2 separate regions of the Homo sapiens genome follow, and region 2 is linked to region 1. Evidence: promoter capture Hi-C in 16 types of primary human blood cells and fetal thymus (Javierre and others, 2016). All regions are on one chromosome and are shown on one strand. The core of a region is centred on a gene start or on the middle of the fragment in contact, and the rest is flanking DNA. Distances in the headings are between cores, read along the strand shown.

What was found. Contacts are between HindIII fragments. The CHiCAGO score rates a contact against its expected background, and 5 or more counts as called.
Region 2: a fragment that was not itself captured here is called in contact with the fragment with the promoter of SH2D4A in region 1 in 1 of 17 cell types (M1 macrophages); the score reaches 6.0 in M1 macrophages.

What each region holds. Positions count from the first base shown.
Region 1 is chr8:19,312,157-19,315,916 of GRCh38, forward strand. It overlaps SH2D4A (SH2 domain containing 4A), which reads left to right and starts at 1,537. Exons shown (of 10, transcript NM_022071.4): 1 at 1,537-1,667. The HindIII fragment of the contact is 8,347 bases long and covers 1-3,760 here.
Region 2 is chr8:19,044,556-19,048,315 of GRCh38, forward strand. It overlaps a transcript of PSD3 not described here. Among named protein-coding and RNA genes, the nearest start is that of PSD3, 33 kb to the left of the region's middle. The HindIII fragment of the contact is 1,345 bases long and covers 910-2,254 here.

The DNA of each region.
Region 1 (3,760 bases), core at 287-2,786:
GAATGACTTGGAAGGTAGGTGGCATGGTGGGCAGAACCCACAGCCTAGGGTGAGATGGCAGGAATGTGGAATTCCAGTACCTTAATGTGATATGAACTGATCTGAGTGAATGTGTTTGAACACTCACCACATGCCAAGAGCTCTTCTAATCTCTTTGCATGTAGCATCTCATTTAACCCTCTTGACAACTTACCGAGGCAGACACTCTTTATCTAGAGGAGGAAAGTGAGGTACAGAGGTTAGTAGCACAGTGATAAAGCTGTTATAAGGAAGGACTTGCCAGGACCTGGAGAGAGACTGGGTGTGAGGAAGGTAGGCTGTCACAGTGTCCTGTGGGATTTTTCCTAACTGATAAACCACCCTGTATGGTTCAACTGATGCATCCATGCAGGGCTAGGATTCATTCTGACCTCGTCATAGCAGCTTTCCAGGGGCCAATCCCACTCCAGCCTAAAGCACCCCATATGCTATCATTTAAACTGCAGTAGGAACTAAGCCTTACACCAGAAATTCCTCCCTGATGGGATTCCTGGAATTGTTCCTAAATAGCTGGGTCTTATTTCCTGACAATGCCGCCTGCCCCGAGGCTTGATGTAACTCTGCACAGCTTCTGCAGTTTGGAGAGGCAGGGAAATGCCATTTTGTGTTTGAATCCAGCAGGTCAGGCTCCTAAAGAGGTCAGGTAGTCCGTGGAGAGGACTACTGGTGTTTACTGTTTATTACATCTCTCCCAATACACAAAATCTGGGGTTCACCAAAGCAGGCGGTTTTCTTCCACATGCTCCTCTAGGATGGAAAATGCCCTCCAGTGGAAATGCCTTTCCACTGTGCTTCTGCTCAATTTTCCTCCAAGATTTCCTCTAACTGTGGACTGCCAGCTCCTCCCTGACGTCTTCAGGCACCAAGCCAACCTGTTCTTGTTGCAATCCTCAAGACTCCTTTCAGCATCTTAACTTTTCCCCCAGTTTTCTTTCATTTTCTCCACCTGTCTGTGTTGACTGCGGTCTCCTTCCTTCCAGCCTTTTCCTTCCTTCATCTTGTCCTACAAAGCCACACGTGTACCGACAAGTGCCAAAGAGTTTGATCATTTACTTAATGTCAACAAAAGAAAAAAAAAAAAAGCTCCAGAGTCGCCTTGGCCTGCAGCACCCAAGCAGAGTGAACAAGTGGGGCCTGCGCACCCTCCTACCCTACACCTAGCAAGGAACCCCGAGCTCTGAAACGTGGAAAGGCCCAGATCTGCAGATTTAATCTAAGTCCTGCAGTCCCCAAGAGATCACAGACTGCAGATCCCTGTCTCATGAACTAAGAGAGGAGAGGACAAGCCTACCCCGGACTACCGCAGCTCGGGGACAGCGCGCGGGCCAGGCGGCCCGAGATGCGCAGGCCACGCAGCCTCGCCGACGAGTGGCCCTGGAGAGCCTCCAGGCGCCCGGGTGGGGCCGCGATTGCGCCCCGCCAGTCACCCCGGCATGTGGGCGCGGCGGGGCGGCGCGGGCGGGACGGCTACAAGAGCTGTTTTGCGTCCGGGCCGGAGTATTTGCTCAGCCCGCCTGCGCCGCTTGGGACGCCTCTGCCTTTCCCTCCCTCCCTTCCCCGACGGCTTCTGGCGGCCAAGTGGATGTGGCGGGTGATCGAGCCACCCTGCCCAGGGGCGCCCAGCACTGGTAGGTGCTGGGGGTGGGGCGAGGCTTTGGGGAGAGTGTGCGTGGGGTGGGAGTAGGGGGAAGGGAATTTCCTCGGAGGTTGCATGGGTGCATGGGAGGCGCAGGGGCCAGAGCGGGCGGGCGGAAGCCTCACCCCCGCCTCCACCCCTTCGCGGCGCCCGGGGCGGGCTCAGGTGCGGGGTTGGGCGGCGAGAGCGGCCGCGGCGGGTGTCCGGTGTCCGGTGTCCGGTGTCCGGTGTCTGGAGCCGCTGGCTAGGTGAGCGGCGGTCCCCGGGGCCTGGGGGCTTGCAGGGGGTGGCGGGGGAACTTCGAGGGAGAGGGTCTGCCGGGGCTGAGGACCTTCGGGGAAGTTCTGGAATCCGGCAGGGACACGCGGCGCGTGCTTCCACCCGCGGGGAGTGCAGGCCCCGGGAGGGTCCGGGCTGGCCTAGAGTTTCTAGACTCCTAGCAGGAGCACGTCCTCGACTTGCGCATGGAAATCTTCCAGGAGGGAAGTCCCGGGAAACGGTGGCAGCTGGCGCAGCACCCCCGCAGCACGTTCCCCGCGCACCGGCACCCAGGGGCGCCCCCACGTGGGGTCTGGGAGCGCGCGGAGGCCAGTGCAGCGCCGCCTCCCTCGGGCTGCAGCGGCGGGGCTGGCCCAGACCCAGACCGGGTGCCCAGTGCGCTCAGCCAAGCGGCGCCCCTGCCCGCTCCTGGACTCGGGGGTCACGCGGGCACCGGAAGGAGCTACAGTTTGTAGGTTTTCTGAGTTGTCTCTCCCTTCCCAGGGAGCTTAGAGAAGCAGCAAGCGTGGCACCTCCCCCTTTCAAACAGATGCTCCTCATCGCTCCAAAGGCTTTCGTTTGATTGCTGGTTTAATAGAAACAACGACTTGGGTACGATTATTTTAAAATAGTGAATAAATAAGTGGAAAGCATACAGGGGCATAGATTTGGCATATGAGTGGAATTCTCTATGTATACTAAATCTGTGTGTACAGTAATCTCAAATTTCTGAAGAATAGTATATATTTACAAACTGCTGTCATCTCTGGTAATTTGTTTCATCCTCAAAAACAGCCCTTTTGCTGGTAGATGAATAAGATAAAGTTTCAATAAGAAAACAAAGTTGGACCACAGAGCTGGCTGTTTTAAAAGAATTAGAATTCAAACTGTATTGTTAATGTTATAGTTACACTGTCCATACCACAATACTTTTATTTATTTTTTATTTTATTAGGTCGGTGCAAAAGTAATTGCGGTTTTTACGTAAAAAAAACCGCAGTTACTTTTTTTTTGGCCATGTAAAACACAATAACTTTTGCACCGACCTAATGTTTTTAATTTTTGAGACAGGGTCTCCTTCTGTCACCCAGGCTGTGGTGCAGTGGTGCGATCTCGGCTCACTGTAGCCTCAAACTCTCCAACTCAAGAGATCCCCCCACCTCAACCTCCCAAGTAGGTGGGACTATAGGTGCGGGCCACCACGCCTGGCTAATTTTTATACTTTATGTAGAGACGGAGTTTTGCCATGTTGCCCAAGCAGGTCTTGAACTCCTGAGCTCCAGCAATCCACCCATGTCCACCTCCCAAAGTGTTGGGATTACATGTAGAACCACTGTGCCCGCCTACTATTTTTATGATTTAGCCTGTATCTAAGGCCTTTTAAAATTGTATTTTGTTTAGGTCTCAGAGTTATTCAAAAGACAGTTGTATTGTAGAACAGTGTGAAGGTGTGAGAATCAGGCCAAATCTATGGTATCATGGAAAACAACGGATTCTCTGACCTTTTAGCAATTGGTGTTCAGAATAAATAGCAGGTGTGGGCTTGTTGCTTATCATTTCTCTCTTTTAAGAAAGGGGCTGTGTTAGCTGAGCTATTCCTTTGTTGGATCTTGAATAACCGGAGATTTGCTGCCCTTGATATAGTATGGGAAAGTCCTCTGAGTTTGAATCAGTATCAGCAATGATTACTTCCTTGTCAGGGAGTGAAAGTAGGAAAGCCCTAGTTAGTTAATTTCCTGATTTCTATTTCTTCTACCCTGGCTCCACCAGGCTCCTTCGCTTCACAGTAGATTATGTCAGATACCCACACATTAGAAGTCACAGACT
Region 2 (3,760 bases), core at 332-2,831, 270 kb before region 1:
ATGAATGTAAAGTATCTTTTGTTCTTTTTCACTGTAAGTCATTCCATAGTCCTTAATCTTGTCACTAAGACTTTTAACGCCAGGTAATTGTTTCTAGGAGTTTGCTGTCTAATGAGAACAACGACATACAAATATAATTAAAACACAAATGTACTGTGAGATTGAAAGAACTATGGAAGTGCTATGAGAACTTTGCTCAGTGGTACCATAAAGCCTTACAGAAGAGATTCTTCAAGGATGAATAGGAGTTTGGTGGAGAGACGGGAAAGATTGTATAGAAAAATGTGAAGGCTTAAGCATGTTCCAAGGTGGGATGGAGATGAGACTTTTAAGAAAAGTAATGTCCAGGCTGGGCATGGCGGATCATGCCTGTAATCCCAGCACTTTGGGAGGCCAAGGTGGATGGATCACCTGAGGTCAGGAGTTCAAGACCAGCCAGTCCAACATCGTGAAACCCTGTCTATACTAAAAATACAAAAATTAGCTGAGTGTGGTGGTGCACACCAGTAGTCCCAGCTACTTGGGAGGCTAAGGCAGGAGAATTGCTTGAACCCCGGAGGCAGAGGTTGCAGTGAACCAAAATCATGCCATTGCACTTCAGCCAGGGTGACGGAGCAAGACTCCATCAAAAACAAAAAAACAAAAACCCAGAAAGAAAGAAAAAGAAAAAGAAAAGTAAAAAAGTAATATCCGAATTGTGAAAGCTTTGAATGTTTGGACTTTATTTCTTACAGTCAGTAAAGGGAAAATTTTAAGGAGAATATGATATGAAACCAAGAGATTCACAAGACAATAGAAAAAGTTGACAAGGGACCTGTATATCCCTCTCATATATCTCTCATTTTGAATTTAACAAAAGTGTTAAGGGAGGTGAGACTGACAGTAGCCAGCCGCCCTTGAACACAGCCAAGCTTCTTTCCTGGACAAACAATAAGCATTTCTAAGCAACAGCACAGATCTCTTGAAAGCGGCAGTGCTCAGTAGCTGGTTTCTAGGACCGATTCTACAGAAGTTTACCCAAGTGATTAGGAAATTCTTTGCTCTGGCAAAGATTAGATCTCTTTACAGAATGATAGTAAGTAATTATCCCTTACTTCAGGAACACCTTCTCCATTTAAAGGGGAAGGAAATCCTAGAAATGGAAGGAAGGAAAAGAATCCAGCCATCTGATTTAGCCAAAAACCAGCTAGTGTTGGGAGGGTGGAGAAGATGCTGTTAACATTTGTGGGTCACCTCCTAGGTCCTAGCATTCCACTAGATGCTTTATAAACATTCTCATTAAATCCTCACAATAACCTGTCAGGTAAGTGTTTTTATTCCCAGTTGAATTCAGGGCTTGCATTACGTCTAATCATCACTAGATTCTCAAGTCATTTCTTTTAAATCTCCTTTCTGGCTATAACCATCATCCCTTATCCTCTGCCCCTAAAAGATGATTACCAAGGATGGTTGAAATTAATTTCAAGTTAAGTTTGGGGAAGCAAACTCTTATAGGGATTACACAATAAGAAACAAGAAAACATTGTATAGAACAAGGGTGAAGTAACTAGATCTTTTGTTGTTGGTGGTGTTTTGAGATGGAGTCTCACTCTGTTGCCCAGGCCAGAGTGCTGTGGCCTGATCTCGGCTCACTGCAACCTCTACCTCCCAGGTTCAAGCGATTCTTCTGCCTCAGCCTCCAGAGTAGCTGGGACTACAGGCACGTGCCACCACACCTGGGTAATTTTTGTATTTTTAGTAGAGACGGGGTTTCACCATATTGGCCAGGATAGTCTCGAACTCCTGACCTCGTGATCTGCCCGCCTCAGCCTCCCAAAGTGTTGGGATTACAGGCTGAGCCACCGTGCCTGGCCGGTAACTAGATCTTATACTTCTGACCTTTTCATCATTTTAGCAGCAACCGATTTCCTTTATTGGGCCATCACTTATTCATTCAACAAATGAGTTAAGTTCCCAGCATCATGCATCTGGCTGAGGTCAGGCTCAACAAAGGGCCATGCCTATTCTTACTCAATCTTGGCACTGTATTCCTTACCATTTCTTTCTGCCTTTTGAAATGCCCAAGTATAACTTTGCCTTGAGTTTCCAAGACAAGCTCAAGCTCCTTTGTCTTCTGAGTTGATGCAATGTTGGATTACCAAATAAAGCTCCAGATGCCAATCCTTTCAGTAAGATCTGATGAGGTTTTGTTAAAGCTGACAAAAGAAATTTCAAAGAAATACTGTCGACACTGCTGAACAGTAGTTAATAATGAAGCTTACATCACTCAAGCCTTGGCAAGTGAAATAGTTTGTCCTGCAGTGAAAAAAAGGCCTTAAACTGGGTAGTGACAGCAGCAAAATTCTCAAGTTTGCATCTCAGGTGAACACTTGTCTCTCATCAAGAGTGGGTTGTACCATATACTACCTGGAGAGTTAGGGGTTAAATCTTAGGGCTGGCAGCCCTGGGACCAACAGCTTCCAGCAATTACATTTATCAGTGTATCCTCTGCATATCCCACTCCCTCTCCGGGGCTCGTTGCCAGCAGGCCTCTTATTCCTCTGCTACACAGGGACATAAATCTCTTTGCAGGAAGCAGAAACTAAACTAGGTGCTTAAGAGCCTCGGCAGAGAAATTCAGTGCCACTCAGCTGTTGATTTGCTGATGATAAAACGCACTCCTGATTTGCAAGCCTGGAGGTCCCTCTCTAACTCTGCAGTTCTCTGTGCCCTGGGACAGCCTTCATGTGGCCTCCCTGTGGCCTCCAGGGTACAGTAATGCATTGTATAGATTTCACCGCAAGTAAAGGATTCAGAATCCTTGCCTTGGAGAGGCCACAAGATGCTCATTTATTATAAAATATCCTCTAGTCAGATGATAAAATTCCACCATTAAGGATTCATGCCCTAGGATAAATGTCACTCTCTTCCTGCAGCCTTCTTTCTAGGATGCAAACCTCTGGGAGGTAAGAATGTGGAGGGGGTAAATGAATGGAGGAAAGGACAAAGAAGAGGGAGCTATAGAGTTTGAGTTTTGGGGGAGGGAAACACAATCTTTGCTTCCTTTACAACTACACCATCAAGCCCCAGGGTCAGGGACCAGGTTTCTCTGTTAATTGCTGTTCTGCCACACCTTATGTCATACCTGGCACAACACGGGCACTCAGTAGGGATGTGTTGAATGATGTCAATGAACAAAGCAGACACCTATCCCTCTCCTCCCTAAGAATGGGTGTGCATTAGAACAAGGACGACAAGGTGTCTGTCCTCCAGGCAGAAGCTAGCATCTCACACTGCACGGGAGCCTGTTGCAGTGGCCAGGTGGGCCTCTTAGTCGGAAGCCCCTGCTGTCAGATGATGCCTACTCACAGCTAGGTTTGGCTATTGAGTGTCTCCTGGCTAGATTTCTTTTTTTTTTAATGAAGCAGCATGAAAATTCACCTTCTACCTTTGCCTCTTCAGCAACTCCAATGACCAACTTGTCGGCATTCCTGGCTCGCCCAAACCTAGAAACAAGGAGTATGTTCACATCCAAAGACTTCAAAGAGCCAGGGCAGACAGTTTTCAAGTCATCCTCCTGAAGCCTCTGCCACAGTTGGCAGCCAGGGTGAGGCCAAGCTTCACGGCTGCCCTCTGGGGCTGAAATAAATCTGAATGCCAGGGAGCCTGGTAGGACAATGGAACTAACCTCTTTGGCTCTTTAAAGAGAGGTGGCCCCACCCTCTCCCACAGGCTGCAGAGTCCTGGCCGACATATCAACTCGGTGGTTAAGAGCACCTAA